Linked DNA regions of Homo sapiens: region 1 is linked to region 2. The links are contacts of gene promoters, found by promoter capture Hi-C in human tissues and cell types (Jung and others, 2019). All regions are on one chromosome and are shown on one strand. Each heading gives the region's core, a stretch centred on a gene start or on the middle of the fragment in contact. The rest is flanking DNA. Distances are from core to core; before and after follow the strand shown.

Region 1 (3,049 bases), core at 491-2,990, 60 kb after region 2:
TTCTACCGTGGAATATTAGATCCAATGATTTCGAAGAGTGGTCTTCAAAGTGTGGTCCAGGGACCTCTCTTCTGGAGGTTCCTAAGATCCTTTAGGGGGGTGAGTCACAAGGCCAAAGCTATTTTTGTAATAATGCTGAGACATCATTTGCCTTTTCTTTGCTCTTTGATGCCTGCACTGAAGGTGTAAAAACAATGGTGGATAAACTGCTGAGGCTTTAGCACGAGTCAGGGCAGTGGGCCCAACTGCTCTGACAGTCATTAGATCCTTCATTGAAAAAGAAATGAGCTGGGTGCAGTGGCTCACACCTGTAATCCCATCACTTTGGGAGGCTGAGGAAGGTGGATCACCTGAGGTAAGGAGTTCAAGACCAGCCTGGCCAACATGGTGAAACCCCGTCTCTACTAAAAATACAAAAATTAGCCAGGCACAGTGGTGGACACCTGTAATCCCTGCTACTCAGGAGGCTGAGGCAGGAGAGTCGCTTGAACCAGGGAAGCAGAGGTTGCAGTGAGCCGAGATTGTGTCACTGCACTCCAGCGTGGGTGACAGAGTGAGATTCTGTCTCAAAAAAAAGAAAAAGAAATGAGAAGAAAAAACAGTTTCATTAAAGAATCACCTTGATGAAACCCTAAAAGTTATGAGTCTTTTTGAACCGTGGCCCCCAGTCCATGTCTTTTGAGGATTCTGCCTGATGAGCTTGGAGGAGGACAGGAAGCTCTTGTGCCACGTGTTGAAGGTGACAGATATTTCTATTAAAAGGATTGGGCAATTGTTCCGATCGCCACCTGAGCTAGAAACTTTTCTTATGAAATAGCATTTTCACTTGAGAGAACAACAGAGAGATGAACTGTTTCGACTTGGGTACTTGGCAGATATTTTCTCAAAAATGAACAAAGTGCGACTCTCACTTCAAGGAAAAGAAGTGACAGTATTTATTGCCAGTAATAAAACGGAAGCTTTCAAGCACAAAGTAGAATTCTGGAAAACATATATCGCCTGCTGTGAGCTTGACAGTTTGCAACACTGGGAGACTTTTGATGAGGGTTTCCAACACCGGGAGACTTTTGATGAGATCGCTGGTGAGAGTAACAGAAGTGGTTCTCTTTTGGTGTGCATATGAAATGTGTCAACATTTGAGAAGTCTGCATCACTCAGTGAGCCGGTGTCTTCCAAATGATTAATGCATGGTGTTACAAAAATCACACAGGGGTAGAAAATCCACTTCAAGTGCAAGAGAGACCAATGGATTTGAACAAACAGAAAAGGAAAAGTTCATTAACATGGTTTCAGATTCCACATCACAACTAACCTTTAAGAAACTACCAACTGGCCGGGCGCAGTGGCTCATGCCTGTAATTCCAGCACTTTGGGAGGCTGAGGCAGGCAGATCACTTGAGGTCAGGAGTTTGAGACTAGCTCGGCCAATGTGGTGAAACCCTGTCTCTACTAAAAATGCAAAAATTAGCCAGACATGGTGGCACGCACCTGTAGTCACAGCTACTTAGGAGGCTGAGGCAGGGGAATCGCTTGAACCTAGGAGGTGGAGGTTGCAGTAAGCCGAGATTACGCTACTGCACTCCATCCAAGGGTGGCAGAGAGAGACTTTGTCTCAAAAAAAAAAAAAAAAAAAAAGAAAAAAAAAAGAAAAAGGAAAAAAACTACCAACTCCAACTGCCGGGTTTTCATGTTGTAACAACACATGATGTTAATTATTGTCTACAAAGGCTATTCAAGTACTCCTTTTTTCAATTATGTATCTGTATGAGCCTAGATTTTCTTCAAATACTACAGCCTAGAAAACATGTTACGACCCACTGAATGCAGAAGCAAGTGGAGAATTCACCCATCTTCTATTGTTCCAGATAAGGGAGGAGACCACCCCTCATATTGTCTTATGCCCAATTTCTGCCTCCAAAGAAAAAAGAAGTAAAAACTAAAAGGCAGAAATGAAATCCACAGGCAGACAGCCCAGCGCCACACCCTGGGCCTGGTAGTTAAAGATCGACCCCTGACCTAATCAGTTATGTTATCTATAGATTACAGACATTGCACGGAAAAGCATTGTGAAAATCCCTGTCCTGTTCTGTTCCATTCTAATTACTGGTGCAGGTGCATGTAGCCCCCAGTCACGTACCCCCTGCTTGCTCAATCGATCATGACCCTCTCACATGAACCCCCTTAGAGTTGTAAGCCCTTAAAAGGGACAGGAATTGCTCACTCGAGGAACTTGGTTTTTGGAGACGTGAGTCTGCCGATGCTCCCAGCTGAATAAAGCCCTTTCCTTCTACAATTCGGTGTCTGAGGAGTTCTTGTCTGTGGCTTGTCCTGCTACACAGACATTAAAGAGATTTGCAAAAGCAGAACAACACCACTCACCTTACTCACACTCTGATTTTGGGAAAATCTCATTTTTTATAAAAACTGTATTTATATTAACATGTAGGGGGTTTACTGTTATTTTTAAATGAGTGAATAAATAAATATTTTTAACTCCCAGTTTTAATTTCTGATGTGGTAAATATTAATAGATATGACCCATATGAATAAAACTCTTTGGGGTTCTCAGTAATTTAGGAAATGTGAAGGGGTCCTGAGGCCCAAAGGTTTGAGAACTGCTGATTTCGAAGTCAAGTTTGCTCTCCCTCCCAGAATGTGGAGAAAAGGGACTAAGCGATGGGAGACAGTGGGGAGATGATGGCAAAGGCCGAGAAAGTGAGCTCCCAGGGGAGACAGAGCCCTGGAGACGGGGATGCATGGGGGTGGAAGGGAAGTGCTGTCCTTGTCCTTGGGGCAGGGGACCCACATTACTGTCCTCTGCAGTCCCACCTCCAGAGGGCCCTGGGACACGCATGCCAGAGCTGTGACTGGTGGGGCAGAACAGAGCCAAGGGGGCACTCCTGTCCTCAAGGGAGGCCCGGCAGCCTCTGAAGAAAGGGCGTATACCAGGGAAGGAAAACGCTTCTAGGACGGGAACAGGAAGGAAAGGCCGCTCCTATGATGGGGTCTGGACAGGATTGGTGAGCCACGCAGGGTGAAGGGGTCAGAC
Region 2 (3,304 bases), core at 235-2,734:
TGGGAGCAATCTAGGTTCAAGTCTCCCTGCCATGGGTCAGAAACAATCCATGATGCATCTTCCCTGAGTAAGAGGGAGGCAAGACAGACTGCAATGAGAGGACTAGCAGTTGTAGGGGTTGCGGGGTGCAGGGATGAGTAGGGGGAGCCCAGAGGACTTCTAGGACAGTTAAACGACTCTGCGTGATGCCACATCGTGTTGTTGTACATTTGTGCAAACCCACAGGACGCACAGCGTGGAGAGTGGGCTCTGACATACGCTGGTTGGGGATGGGGATGTGTCAGTGTGGGTTCCTCGACTGGGACAAAAGCACCCTCGGTGGGGGTGTTGATCATGGGGGAGGCTGTGCGGATGTGGGGGAAGGGGGTGGATGGGAACTTTCTGTACCTTCTACTCAATTTTGCTGTGAACCTAAAGCTGCTCTGAAAAATAGTCTAAATAAAAAGGACTGAAGTTGAGGGGCTGCCCAGGGCTCAGGCTGGGGGCTGTGCTACCGTCCTATGGGGACAGTGTCCTGCAGAGTATGACGCGTGGCACCTCCTGGCCTTCTGCAGTGGACAGCCTGGGCAGCCACTCAGGGCAGCTTGGGTGTGGGGGTGGCTGTGGGCTGCCGGTGACCAAGGGTAGACCCAGCGCCCCAACTCAGTGCCAAGTGCCCTCTGCCAAGTCACAAAGCCTTTTCTTCCAAAGAAGTTGCTGGGCTCTGAGGTTCTTTCTAGTCTAATGTCCCAGGAGGGAACAACTTCAGAGTCACCACCACACAGTCGTGAATGTGTAACTGAAGACCAGAGCTTTTATTAGGATTGAAGGGAAAGGAGCCCGAAGGAGAGGAGAGGGTGGGGTGGGGGAGGCTCCAGAGTGAGTTTCTTGACAAGCTGGCTGTCAGCCATCCTGGGACGACATAGCACCGCCTTCCAGGGGGAAGCAGGTCAGCCGGGGTCGCAGGCCAGGCTTGGGGACGTCCCCCAGGGTTGCCCTCCTCCGACCGAAGCGGCCCACAGGCCTGATCCCGCGACTGGCGTACCAGGCAGGATTGATGTCAGGGGCTGGAAAGGAAAGAGCTGGAGCAGACCATGGGCACGTGTCCCCAGGGTGTGCTGTGCTCCCAGAGGCAGCGGGGCAGAGTGCACAGGCAGGGCCTCTCAGCCCAGTCGCCAGGCCATGCTGGGAGCCACCCGAGGAACAGGCACCCAGAGGTTCTGGCGAGGCCATTTCTGGGCGTGGGCTGGCTTTGGGAAGCAGGAGTTCAAAAAAGCACCAAGACTGACTTCCCTTTCCTCCCGCGCACCCCGTTCCTGCCAGGTTCTCGAGCGACCAGGCTGCACTAGGTTCTGGGGTGAGGCAGGGTGGGGTAAGGGAGGCTGACAGGGGTCCAGGCACTCACTGCGGATCTCCATGGAGTGCCGATGGGTACGACTTGCAGCTCCCCGCAGGGCCAGGCCCAGCATCAGCAGGCACAGGAGCCAGGCCCTCAGCACCTTCATCCCTTGGCTCCTCCGAGGAGGCCCCGCTGGAGGGGAGATCCAAATGAGGAGGACACGGCCTGGGGGAGAAGGGGCAGGAGCAGCGTCACACAGGCATCAGGGTGCGTGTGCACGGAGCTGGGACCTTGGGTAGAGTGAGCACTGTGTGTGAGAGAGAAGTATGTGCATGAGCCTGTGTGCATGTGAGTGCACAGCTGTGTATGTATATGTGTACAAGAGGGTGTGGTGTGTGCACATGGGTGCCTGTGTGTGTGTATGTGTGCAGATATGTGTGTGTATGTGTGTAGATGTGTGTATGTGTGCAGGTGTGTGTGTATGTGTGTAGATGTGTGTGTATGTGTGCAGATGTGTGTGAGTGTATGTGTGTAGATGTGTGTATGTGTGCAGATGTGTGTATGTGTGTAGATGTGTGTGTATGTGTGTAGATGTGTCTGTGTGTATTGTGTAGATGCGTGTGTATGTGTGCAGATGTGTCTGTGTGTAGATGTGTGTATGTGTGTAGGTTTGTGTGTATGTGTGTAGATGTGTGTGTATGTGTGCAGATGTGTGTGAGTGTGTGATGTGTGTATGTGTGCAGATGTGTGTGTGTGTAGATGTGTGTGTATGTGTGTAGTGTGTCTGTGTGTATTGGGTAGATGCGTGTGTATGTGTGCAGATGTGTCTGTGTGTAGATGTGTGTATGTGTGTAGGTTTGTGTGTATGTGTGTAGATGTGTGTGTGTAGATGTGTGTATGTGTAGGTGTGTGTAGTTGTGTGTGAGTGTATGTATGTGTGTGGATGTGTGTGTAGTTGTGTGAGTATGTGTGTAGATGTGTGTGTATGTGTAGATGTGTGTGTAGCTGTGTGTGTGTGTATGTGTGTAGATGTGTGTATGTGTGTAGATATGTGTGTAGATGTGTGTGTGTCGATGTGTGTGTGAGTGTGTGTAGATGTGTATGTGTGTAGGTGTGTGAGTGTACATGTGTAGATGTGTGTGTGAGTGTATGTGTGTATGAGTGTAGGTGTGTGAGTGTATGTGTGTAGATGTGTGTATGTATGTGTGTAGATGTGTATGTGTGTAGATGTGTGTGTAGATGTGTGTGTGTACGTGTGTAGATGTGTGTGAGTGTGTGTAGATGTGTATGAGTGTAGATGTGTGTGTATGTGTGTAGATGTGTGTGTAGTTGTGTGTGAGTGTATGTATGTGTGTAGATGTGTGTGAGTGTGTAGATGTGTATGTATGTGTGTAGATGTGCGCGTGCACATAGCCACATAGATCTCCACGTGTTCCTCTGATCTGTGCTGAGGTGGGAATAAGCACAGAAACAGCAGTTAAACCTGGCTCTCTGCATGGTCCCCCACCCGCCTGTGACCCCATTCTCTCCTCTGCGCAATGAGGTGTTAAGTGAGATGCTTCTGTGCGCGTCAGCCTCTAACGGGATCGGTCACATGTACATTGATGCTCATGATCAGAAAGCCCTCAGGAGGTGTGAGCTACGCGTTATAAAGGGGGGCTGTCATGGAACAGCCTTGGGTCCGTCTGTCCGCCTGTGTTAAGGGATCAGAAGGTGCAGCAGGCCTCTGCACGGCTGTGCATGTTGCACACCCAGGACAGCAGGTTTGTGGGGAGGTGCCCAGGGAGCTGCACAGGTGGAGGCAGCCCCTTGCTCAACCTCAGACATGGTTGGGGAGCTGGGGAGTGCCAAGCCTGGACCAGGCTCAGGGGCTGGAATCCGGTGCACGGCCCCTTCCCACATTCATCTCAGCGCCTCCTAATGCCTGGTTCCAGCCTGCCAGCCCAGCCCTGCTGGGGAATGTCAGCCGACAGCTGCGTGTCGTAG

The links. Contacts are between HindIII fragments. The study calls those that stand out against the background at their distance.
Region 1: a fragment that was not itself captured here is called in contact with the fragment with the promoter of PRLH in region 2 in 7 of the 25 tissues and cell types used here (IMR-90 fibroblasts, aorta, bladder and 4 more).

The regions. Positions count from the first base shown.
Region 1 is chr2:237,505,649-237,508,697 of GRCh38, reverse strand. All of the region lies in intron 2 of MLPH (melanophilin), which reads right to left. Among named protein-coding and RNA genes, the nearest start is that of MIR6811, 3.8 kb to the left of the region's middle. The HindIII fragment of the contact is 6,955 bases long and covers 1-3,049 here.
Region 2 is chr2:237,564,754-237,568,057 of GRCh38, reverse strand. It overlaps PRLH (prolactin releasing hormone), which reads right to left and starts at 1,484. Exons shown (of 2, transcript NM_015893.1): 1 at 1,385-1,484; 2 at 883-1,046. The coding sequence starts at 1,484. The coding sequence ends at 883. The HindIII fragment of the contact is 10,563 bases long and covers 1-3,304 here.